4 separate regions of the Homo sapiens genome follow, and all the other regions are linked to region 3. Evidence: promoter capture Hi-C in human tissues and cell types (Jung and others, 2019). All regions are on one chromosome and are shown on one strand. The core of a region is centred on a gene start or on the middle of the fragment in contact, and the rest is flanking DNA. Distances in the headings are between cores, read along the strand shown.

Region 1 (2,700 bases), core at 45-2,544, 520 kb after region 3:
AGAATTTGGAGTTGCTTAATGTGAAGTTATCTGTCAAACAAAAAAGTCATACATATCCAATGGATTCCCTCTATTATTTGTTGGTGAAAACTGCAAAATATTTTTTCAGTTTTACTTCGCTTAAAGAGAACCATTTAACATGTTGATTAAGATGTATTAATAAAAATCTAAAACAATGTGCTAAGGACTTTTTGAGATCAGCCTTACTGATGTATGAAGTATGACTGTCAGTTTATGTTTCTTTTCCTGGTATTATACTCCAAAACTAAAGGAACCATCTAAGTATCTTAAATTGATACAGGAAGTTTGAGTCACTGAGCTGCTTCATTGCTTGGGACATGTGTTTCTGACATCAGAGGAGTGCATTTTACATGCAATTACATAAGTTGTGCCTTTAATTTGCCCCAACTACTTGTGTTAGTAGTTGGTATTGACTAGGTTCTGTGTTAAAAGACAGTTCCACGGACTTTATTATTACATTACTGGTATAGGTGCTTTGTTGTCAAGTCTAAAAGATTTTTTTTAGTTTATGTCATGTGAAAATTATATGTGGTTTTTGACATATTCTTCTAGTAGTCTTCCCTCTGTGGGAAATCTTAATAATAACCAATTGTCATCTTCCAGAGACCCTTAAAGCACTTATGTGTTTAAATGCAATTAAATATGTAGGAAAATAAAAATTACAAAATACTTTTAAAATAATAATAATGCTTTAGTTCTGCTTATTTCGACGTTAGATTAACTCTCTGTGAAGTTCTGTACATTAGAATGACCCATAATATGCCAAGATCATTTCTCTCTTCTGGTTCTCTTAAATATTGATTATCCTTTAGGGCAAAGAGAGATCATAAATAAAGATAGTTAAGGGGAATGTAAAAGTGATAAATATTAACTTGTAATCTCTAGAGGCCTCATGTAATACATGATCTGGGGTAATGCTGTTTTAAACTCAAGCCAGTCCATCTTTTACTTTTCTTTCTGTTTTTAAAAGGAAAAGGGAATTTAGTTGTGATGATTATTCAAGAATATATATTAATATTGGTATTTCTTGGAATTTCTGGAAAACATTCTGGCCCGTCTACCATTTGCTTCTCAGAAAAAAACATTTTATACAAATTTTCAGTTTTAAAGACAGAATAGTAGACAATGAATTCCAGAAATGGATTTTTAAAACAAACCATTTCAGTGAAAGGCACTGAAGATCTGGTAATAAATCTAGGAAATAAATTTTAACATATTTACAGTCGGGTTTTTATTTTTTAACAAGAGTGATAGTGATGTTGTATATAAGGACTTGTATCTTGCACCACTGTATTGAGAGCTAATCCCACCACAGAGGAAGGCAAATTTAGTGTGCATTCTTGAAAGTGCTTAGTACTTTGAGGTTGGTCCATTGAGCCAACTGAGAAGATTCTTCTCTAAAACATGAGGATCTTGTGTCGGATCTTGTAGCCTATTTATGTTGCCTTCCTTATCATAACAAATTTAATATAATTTGATTACCAAGTACAATTTATTTTTCTGAGTACTTTACCAACATTCTCCAATTACTCTTGGAAAATGATTATACTGGGTGGAAATGTATTAAGTTTTAGCAGTGTCACATGTTGAGCAAAAACAGTTGAATCTGAAACAGAGGAATTTTGATTCACAAATGAGTCTGCCAGTGAGAACATACTTACCTATAGTCTTTGAAGCAGCTGGTTAGAGCTTATTGCAGATTCTTGGTCTATGCTCATTAAGTTTAGTACACAGTTCAGCCTGTGCCTGAATGTTAAATTGGAAGTGATGTGATTTTTAGAACAGTTCAGAACAGGCCTGAGCTACCTCTGGCATGGAGTTGTTGAAGGCTGCCTGTGGCCCACCTTCAGTCCCACCAGACTGGTTCTTCCCTGCTGGGACACAGGCATCATAATGCAAGGGCAGGTTGTTACTTGCCACATCAGGTGGTGGGATTCAGCATTGAAGCTACTTAAACTCCAGTGACATGATTTTAGTTTCTCATACTGTGAAGCTAGAATATTTGAGACTGTTACCATCCTAATTTAGGTTTCTTCATATAAAGTACTTTTGCTTTTCTCATCTCAGTGTCATTTGTCTCTACTCTTGAGTTGTATATTGGTTTTCTACATGTCAGACAGATTCATCTCTTCAGAGTTGGAATATAATTATTATTTGTATAGGTGCATAATCTTGTATGTTTACGTTGAACAGATTTTCAGAAATACCATTTACATTTAGAAAATACATAGATGTATCTAAGGAATTTTTCTGTTGTGCTATAATACATACTGTTTCAAATATGTGGTAAAATTCTGTGACCTGCCATATTGGATTTAAAACTTCATCTTCATCTTAAAACTTCATCTTTTGAAATCTCTGAAAATCATTAGTGTGCATGTATTGAACACCAGTCTTTATTCTGTAATTAACACCCCAGATTTCTTTCCCCTCACCTTATGCCATCCATCTGTGTGTTTGGTTTCCAGTATGCCATGTGGAAGAGGTGTGAGCCTTTCTTCAGCCCAAGAAGGAAACTTTAAACATATTTGCACAATAAAATTTCAAATTAAACATTTCAAAAAGGGTGCTCAGACTAGAAATACATGCTCTTCTGAAATTCCATGTTGCAACTGTAACTCCTGTCATATATACCCAGTGTATGAGGAAAAGTTCTTGCAGTTTTCACACTGCCCTTCT
Region 2 (2,700 bases), core at 5-2,504, 560 kb after region 3:
ACACATTAATTAACATCCACAGCTGAGACAGTGTATAATCCAATACATTAACATTTCTGCAGCAGAACGTATGACTATACTAAGTGGGATAAAATCTATTAATAGCCTCCAATCAGTGCAAGCCAGGTTTTGCTACCAAAAAAAAAAGATTGCATCATTCTTAGGGGGGGAAAATCATAGGGCCTGTCAAAGCTTTATGGGTTTCAGAATTGTAGCTAAGTGGTGGTGGGCACATATGTGTGAAGTGCTGGTAGCAATGCCTGCCACCGAGAAGGTGTTCTGTCAATGCTCCCCTCGTGATCTTCACATCTGCCCTACCTATGTCACAGGATGTCATGTGAATGTGAACGTTCTTTTTATGCTGTAAAGCAGCTTGCTCTCAGGTGGCTTTCATGGCCCACAGGAATAAATCTCTTGGAATATAGGCAGCAGGAATGAGGGAAGAGTTGAGGGGCCAGGGTGCTGCTAGGGGGTCCCAAGTCATTCCAAAGATAGTCAAGTACTTCACCCATGCAGCCAGTCCTGGCTTAGGTATTTCTTAGGATAGGCCCCAAACCTCCAGAAGCTCTCTGAGCCCAATCCCCAATTTAGGGGGCAGGAACAGGCACATGTAGGTGCTCAACAAATAGCAAATTCTGGGAGACTGAGGTGTTTTTGCAGCTGTCTGAATTTAATGGAGAGTCAACTAGTGGTTATCAAAGGCCCAGACAGGTAGCCTTTCTTATAAAGAAAATCTGTCTATGGTGGAATCTCTGCCTCCAAGAGTGGTGGCAAGTGAAGTGTTCTCAGCATTGGTTTTACAGTTGCTCGCTAACTTCCAGGAAAGCTTTGGGGTGTTTCCAACACTTTTGACCGGCAGGGGGCGCTCATGGCATTTAGGACACAAAGGCAGGTTCTGGCATGGTAATGAGCTGGTCCCACCCCATCCTGCTGCCCTCACAGTAGTTGCCAGGCAAAGGACACGACTGTTCCCACCTGGATATGCAACTCCATAGACTCATCAGCTTCTGGAGATTCCCCTCAAAGCTGCACACAAGAAGCAGCAGCGTGAGCACAGCTAGCTTAAAAAGCAACATCCAAAATATATTCTCAAGAACTTAAGTTCTGCAAGATGCTTGTTAGAAGTGGTCATATGGGTTTGGGGCTGTGTACATTCTCCTCTTAGAGCTTCCATTTACTCATGTTAAAGGCTCTGAGAATTCCTGCAGAAAAGAAACTATCTCAGTATTTCCCCAAGGTACTTTTTCTTCTAACTCAACAATTATTAATATCCCGAGGGTTACTCTGGGAAATACATTAAGAGAGTAGTGTCTACTTAAGGGTTGCAAAGATGATGCAATAAGATCCAGAGCCCTGCAGATCAGCCTGGGCCACTCAGGCCTCCTCATGGGGAGCCTCCTCTCCCTTCATATGCCCAGCCCCTAGTCTCCAGGCACTCCATTGCACCTTGGAAGTTGTTCCTTAAACTGGAGACCTCTGGCCGTTTCCAGCCACCTCTCTGGGTTTAATCCCCGAGGAAAACTCCTTTTCCATTTGGCCCAGAAGTTTCTTGTTCCTCATCTGCTCCCCAGGAATTATCTACACAATATAGGATTTTTGCTTGTAGAGCTATGGGGTTGGGGAGGCCATACCTTAGATGACGTCATTCCTTTGACCCTCTCCTCCTAAGTTTATGGGTGGCTGACAACCAAATTATGGATTCTTTCTTCCTTAGGGTATTCATTGTATTTCAGAAGCCTATTTGAGTCTCAAAACAAAACCCTTTTAGACCCAAAGGAATAAGTCAAGTGGCAGAACCCGATGGGTCATAGAAGAAGCTAAGTGAACCTTCCCAGGTCCTTAAATTCCAGAATGTGGTCACCACTATAAGCTGAAGGCCCAGAGCAACATTAAGAAGACCCTGAGTGATCTGTCCCCAGCTCCTCTTCAACTTTTAGTTTTCTTGTTTCTCTGCACAGTGTCAATGGTATTTTAAATTATTTATTGAAACATTGTCTCTCTCTGTTGCCCAGCTGGAGTGCAGTGGTGCAATCATAGCTCACTGTAACCTCGAACTCCCGGGCTCAAGCAATCCTCCTGCCTCAGCCTCCTGAGTAGGACTACAGGCATGGGCCATCATGTGCAGATAATTTTTTATTTTTAGAGATGGGGTCTAGCTATGTTGTGCAGGCTAGTCTTGAACACCTGTCCTCAAGTAATCCTCCCACCTTGGCCTCCCAAAGCACTGGGATTACAAGCATGAGCCACACTGCACCTGGCCAACAATGAGAACTTCAATTGCTATTAAAGGATATGTGGACCAAAGAGAAAGGCAGTGCCTCCATGACAGCATGCAGGCCTCTCTGTTCCATCTTCACCGAGGGAAGAAGGGGTAGACTTTCCAGATGGGCAGAGGTGAAAGGCAAGGGACACTGCTGCTGGCTCAGGACCAATGGTTGCGGCTTAGTAGTTCTCCAAGGTCGTAGGGCAGGCTCTGAGGAGGGGTGCCTCTGGGAAGATGAGTCCTGGGGAGGACTGCTACTCCAATGGCCATTGTTGTATCTATGACCCAGTAGCTGGCTAAGAATCTGATTTTCCTGGATGTGGGAAGGTGCAGTCAAGGGAAAGTTTGCTGGGGGATCCTGACAGGGTTTGGGGGTCATTCTTGGAGGGATAGGGTACCTAGGAGAATCTAGACGCTTGGCCAGTGATAAATTTCCT
Region 3 (2,700 bases), core at 144-2,643:
CAGGCAATTCAAAAAAGGGAAAACCCACGTTTAATAAACACATGAAAATGTAGGCCGGGAGCAGTGGCTCACGTCTGTAATTCCTTTATGCACTGCCCGTCGGGAAGTGTAATCCCTGCACTTCGGGAGGCCGAGGCGGGTGGATCACCTGAGGTCAGGAGTTCAAGACCAGACTGGCCAACCCCCCCATCTTTGCTAAAAATACAAAAAATTAGCTGGGTGTGGTGGCGCGCGTCTGTAATCCCAGCTACTCAGGAGGCTGAGGCAGAAGAATCGCTTGAACCCGAGGCGGAGGTTGCAGTGAGCCGAGATCATGCCACTGCATTCCTGCCCGAGCAACAAGAGCAAAACTCCGTCTCAAAAGAAAGAAAGAAAGAAAGAAAGAAAATGTACACGATGGGATACCACCTTACACCCCCCAGACTGATAAACATTACAAAACCAGCCGCCACTGAACGATGGAGGGATACCGGGAAACAGGAAGCTTTATGCACTGCCCGTCGGGAAGTATAAACTAGTGTGACCATTCCAAAGAACAATCCAGCAAAATTAGATATGACCAGGACCCAACTCTGGGGTGGATACCCAGAGAAATGCAACAATATGCACAAGGAGACAACTGCCAGAATATTCGTTACAGTGTGGCTTGTGGGGGTGTTAATACTAGAAAAAAATCTATCCACCACTAGGGGAATAAGTCTATGCACACAGCACCCCTCATGCAAGCACTCAGAAGTGAAAACAAGATGACTAGCATGGATGGACTCAAAAACACAATGTTGAGGAAAAAGGTTTAAAGAAAAATCACAGCATATTATATTGAAGAATTCGAAACCGCTATATAGATTTCAAAGTAACACTTGCACAAATTTACCCAAGGTGGACCGTAAAGCCACTTATATAACACACCAGAGTGGCTGTCTGAAAAGGGGAGTGAAAGGGGTCTGGGAATAGGAACGAAGAGAGGAAGTGATAAAATAAACAAGGAGCCTTGCATTGGCCCACAGGGTGTCAAGAACTGAGAAGGATCAACTCAATTTTGTGCACCTGAGGTTCTTCTTTTCAAAAAAAGAATGCCAGTTGCGAGGGTGAGGGTCCCACACCGCAGGAGATGGCACAAGTCCGGCCAAGAACGGAGGGGGCCGCGGCCGGTGCGGAGCGGCCTAGAGCGGCGGGAGGGCGGACGCCCCTTCGAGAGCTCCTCTTTCTCTCAGAAGTCACGGGGGCGAGACGGGGGCGCCAGGGCGGCGGACGAGGCACGGAGGGCAGGAAAGCCCATTCCCTACAGCCCGGAACTCCTGCTCCCAAACCTCCTCCCCGACCGCCCTGCTTACCTGGCGCCAGCTCCGGGCGCGGGCCCCGCGACCGCCATGACCTGAGACCCGAGGGACTCTGGAGCCCAGCTGCCCCTAGTTCAGTACTGGGTAGAGTCCGAGGAGGGGCGGGGCCCCGGCTACCACAGAGACGGCGTTTGATAGAGAGGAAGGTGCGGGAGACGCGGACTCTCCCGGAAGCGACCGACGTCTCTAAAAGTACCAGAGAGTGGACTCGGCTGACCCGGCGGCTACAGCGCCCCCATATTTTCTGGGAGACTTCCCTTTTGACAATAGGTATCCGAGAGTGTAACTACTTTATGGCAAGTATTTTAGATTCTGTGTATAATAGATGTTTTACATATTCTCCCAGAGAAGCCAGCATGATCTTTAAAAAAGTATAAATTAGGCTTCCAGCCGGGCCCGGTGGGTTACTCCTGTAATCCCAGCACTTTGGAAGGCCAAGGCGGGAGGATCGCTTGAGCCCAGGAATTCAAGACCAGCCTGGGCAACATGGCAAGACCCCGCCTTTACAAAAGACAAAAGCATTAGCCGGGGATGGTGGCGAGCGCCTGTGGTCCGAGCTACTCTGGAGGCTGAGGCAGGAGAATCACTTGGGCCCGGAAGGTCAAGGCTGCAGTGAGCCGTGACTGTGCCACTGCACTCCAGCCTGGGCGACAAAGAGAGACCCTGTCTCAAAAACAAATAAATAGATGATAATGATCGATAGATAAGATAGATAGTTGAATGAATGAAATGCTTATCAGTTGACTGATTAGTACCCAAAGGGAGGTGGGAAATGGCTCAAAAAAAACCCAAACAGCATGATCCCACAGGTCCCTAAATTTGAATCTGGATGTGTCTTCTCACTTTCCTCCAATCCTTATTAAGTTTCAACTGCAAGCCAAACACTCTACAACATGCATGTATCACTTGTCTTTATGAAAGTTGCAGTCTAGCTGGGTAGGTCAATCAGTTGACAATTACAGATTTTTTTTTTTTTTTTTTTTTTTTTGATACGGAGTGTTGCTTTTGTTGCCCCGGCTAGAGTGCAATGGCGCGATATCGGCTCACGGCAACCTCAGCCTCCCGGATTGAAGCCATCCTCCTGCCTCAGCCTCCCGAGTAGCTAGGATTACAGGCATGTGCCACCACGCCCAGCTAATTTAGTATTTTTAGTAGAGACAGGGTTTCTCCATATTGGTCAGGCTGGTCTTGAACTCCTAACCTCAGGTGATCTGCCCGCCTTGGCTTTCCAAAGTGTTGGGATTACAAGAGTGAGCCACCGCTCCTGGCCTTTTTTTGTTTTTGTTTTTGTTTTAGACGGAGTTTCGCTCTTGTGGCTCAGGCTGGAGTGCAATGGTGCTATCTTGGCTCACTGCAACCT
Region 4 (2,700 bases), core at 86-2,585, 700 kb after region 3:
GGAAGTTCCCTTTTGTTCTAGTTTTCTGAGAGTTTGTACCATGAATATTGAATTTTGTCAAATGTTTCTTCCTGCATCAATTGACATGATCATGTGGTTTTACTTCTCAGATTGTTAATATGGCATATTACATTGATTTTTAAGTGTTTAATCAGCTTTGCATTCCAGGTTTATGTTTCACTTTGTAATTACATATTATTCTTTTTTTATGTATTGCAGGATTTGATGTGCTAATAATTTGTTGCAATTTTTGCTTCTATGTTCATGAGAGATATTAATCTGTAATTTTCTTTTCTTTGTACTACCTTTGGCTAACTTTGGTATTGACATAATCTTTTTGGAGGGCAATTTGTTAATTGTAACAAAAGTCTAAAATGTGCTCGCCTATGGATTCCACTTTGAAGAATTTATCTTAAGGAAATAGAGATTTCTATTACACACATACTTTGGGTTCAGGTAGACCTGGATTTAAGTATGAACCCAATCCTTTATTAACTGCTTAAATTCTGTGGGTCTGTTTCCCAATCTGTAAAATGGGGATAAGAGGACCTATTTCAGACCTTATTAACTGAGACAATTCACACACAGTGCCCAAGAACCAGTAAGCTTTAAGTAAATGGTAACTCTTGGTATTATGTTATACTCTCTGGCCTCTCTGTAGGAGGACAATTCTGTCCAAATCAGAGGATGTCATCTTTGCTTCTGTATTGGCTCCCACTTTGAATCTCCTTAATCTTCCTCATCTCTAATTTCGCCGTCTTCTGTTAGACGTGTTAGGCCTTGAGAATACAAAAGCAACAAAAGATATCGTCCTTGTTTTCAGAGACATGAACCTCCTAGACACAGGCGCAAACGGTACCAAGCAATGTAACAGAACAAAAGTGAGACGTCTGCCCAAGGGGCAGCCGACCCTGGACATGCATTCAGAGCGTCAGTGTCAGCTGACACTCGGGAGTGACAGCTCGGGCAGTCACCGAGCTGGGAAGACAGGAGGGAGTGCCGCAACTTCTTCAGTGTAGCCTTAAGTCGCGGTGAGGGGCGCGTAGAGACTTGCTGCTCCCATAGCAACGGGACCAGCCACCCTCTACAGGCCTGACGGGTTACTTCCGTTCACCGTCGGCTGAGCCAAGAAAGGCCGCTTCCGATCCTCCAGCCCCCGAGGCGCGGGGGCGCGCGGACGCCCGGTTATAACTGAACAACCCGAGCCCCACGTCTCTGATTGGCTCAGGCAGAGGAAGGGGGCGGGAGATCGGCAACGAAGGGCGTAGCCGGCTTCCACTCAAACTTGAGGTTTCCCCCCATCCCCTCACAGCGGAAGCCGACCTCGCCCGCCCCGGAAGTGCAAACTGTGTGGTCTGGCAGGTGTGGATTCCGCCGGTGAAGGCTGAAGGCAGCTACCTTAAAGATGCCGGGATCCGCAGCGAAGGGCTCGGAGTTGTCAGAGAGGATCGAGAGCTTCGTGGAGACCCTGAAGCGGGGTGGTGGGCCGCGCAGCTCCGAGGAAATGGCTCGGGAGACCCTAGGGTTGCTGCGCCAGATCATCACGGACCACCGCTGGAGCAACGCGGGTGAGGCCGGCCTGCCTCCGCCGGCGAACCTGGCCCCTGTCTGTTCCCGATCCCAGGGCTGAAAATTTCCCAGGCCTCACTTCGCGTTGGCTCCTCTTATCCTCTCTCTTTTGGACTGTAGGGGAGCTGATGGAGCTGATCCGCAGAGAGGGCAGGAGGATGACGGCCGCTCAGCCCTCCGAGACCACCGTGGGCAACATGGTGCGGAGAGTGCTCAAGATTATCCGGGAGGAGTATGGCAGGTCAGGCTCACGTCCTGGGCTCCTGGTTGGATCCAGTGACACTTTTTGCACGGGCCCCTCTACCTGCTCGGAGACTTTATTGGAGCTGAACAGCCCTTGTTACCTGCCTGACCACTCCTCCCCACCTCTCTCTTTGGGTCTTGTTGCCTCTATAGACTCCATGGACGCAGCGACGAGAGTGATCAGCAGGAGTCCCTGCACAAACTGTTGACATCCGGAGGCCTAAACGAGGATTTCAGCTTCCATTATGCCCAACTCCAGTCCAACATCATTGAGGCGATTAATGAGCTGCTAGTGGAGCTGGGTAAGAGGCCTGATCGCTGGGAAAATGGGACTGGTCACAGGCACATAAGGGAACAGAAGCCTCTGAAGGTTGTTCATTAGCAGAGATGGGAGATTAGCTGTCTTCTGGTTCTCAGAGGTTTGTCCTCCTTCCTGATTAGGAAATGTTGCAACAGGTGACAGGACCAAAGTAATCCTCTCTACTTTTCCTTACAGACCAACCCTTGATAGACTACAGATCTGTGGAGTGGAACAGACTCTATTAGGACAGAGTTTTATTTTCATTGTAAAGAAACAAAATGAACTCCCTAGAGAGCCAAGGTCGATAGACCTCCTTCACTATCTGAATTTTTATACACACGTACACGTATACCATTTCTATCCCCCTTGTCATTGCGGTCCAAGTGACTTGCAGATATTCATTGTAATCAGAGGATGAAGAAGCTGCTTCCAAATTGCTCCCCCATTTTTTCTTCTCTGGCCAGTCTCTCTCATGTAGAAGTGTTGTGGCCACCTTTTGGAGGAAGACTTCTTTTAGGCCGAAGCTCTCTTTACCCTATTCTCAGCACTTTAGGATTTCCCAGATTGCCATTCCTTGGCTGAATCTA

What was found. The method cuts DNA at HindIII sites, captures the fragments that hold promoters and counts their contacts. A contact is called where the count stands out against the background at its distance.
Region 1: a fragment that was not itself captured here is called in contact with the fragment with the promoter of ABCD4 in region 3 in 2 of the 25 tissues and cell types used here (heart right ventricle and mesenchymal stem cells).
Region 2: a fragment that was not itself captured here is called in contact with the fragment with the promoter of ABCD4 in region 3 in 1 of the 25 tissues and cell types used here (aorta).
Region 4: a contact is called between the fragment with the promoter of EIF2B2 here and the fragment with the promoter of ABCD4 in region 3, in 1 of the 25 tissues and cell types used here (stomach).

What each region holds. Positions count from the first base shown.
Region 1 is chr14:74,824,883-74,827,582 of GRCh38, forward strand. The region is part of intron 18 of YLPM1 (YLP motif containing 1); the gene reads left to right. Among named protein-coding and RNA genes, the nearest start is that of PROX2, 50 kb to the right of the region's middle. The HindIII fragment of the contact is 7,009 bases long and covers 1-2,700 here.
Region 2 is chr14:74,860,236-74,862,935 of GRCh38, forward strand. PROX2 (prospero homeobox 2) reads right to left here. Exons shown (of 6, transcript NM_001243007.2): 3 at 2,295-2,700. Among named protein-coding and RNA genes, the nearest start is that of PROX2, 15 kb to the right of the region's middle. The HindIII fragment of the contact is 3,852 bases long and covers 1-2,700 here.
Region 3 is chr14:74,301,541-74,304,240 of GRCh38, forward strand. ABCD4 (ATP binding cassette subfamily D member 4) reads right to left here and starts at 1,394. Exons shown (of 19, transcript NM_005050.4): 1 at 1,335-1,394. The coding sequence starts at 1,372. It also overlaps a transcript of VRTN not described here. RefSeq lists a silencer at 1,143-1,222 and an enhancer at 1,483-1,842. The HindIII fragment of the contact is 36,493 bases long and covers 1-2,700 here.
Region 4 is chr14:75,001,586-75,004,285 of GRCh38, forward strand. It overlaps EIF2B2 (eukaryotic translation initiation factor 2B subunit beta), which reads left to right and starts at 1,336. Exons shown (of 8, transcript NM_014239.4): 1 at 1,336-1,568; 2 at 1,690-1,810; 3 at 1,966-2,114. The coding sequence starts at 1,406. RefSeq lists enhancers at 883-972, 1,014-1,694. The HindIII fragment of the contact is 11,364 bases long and covers 1-2,700 here.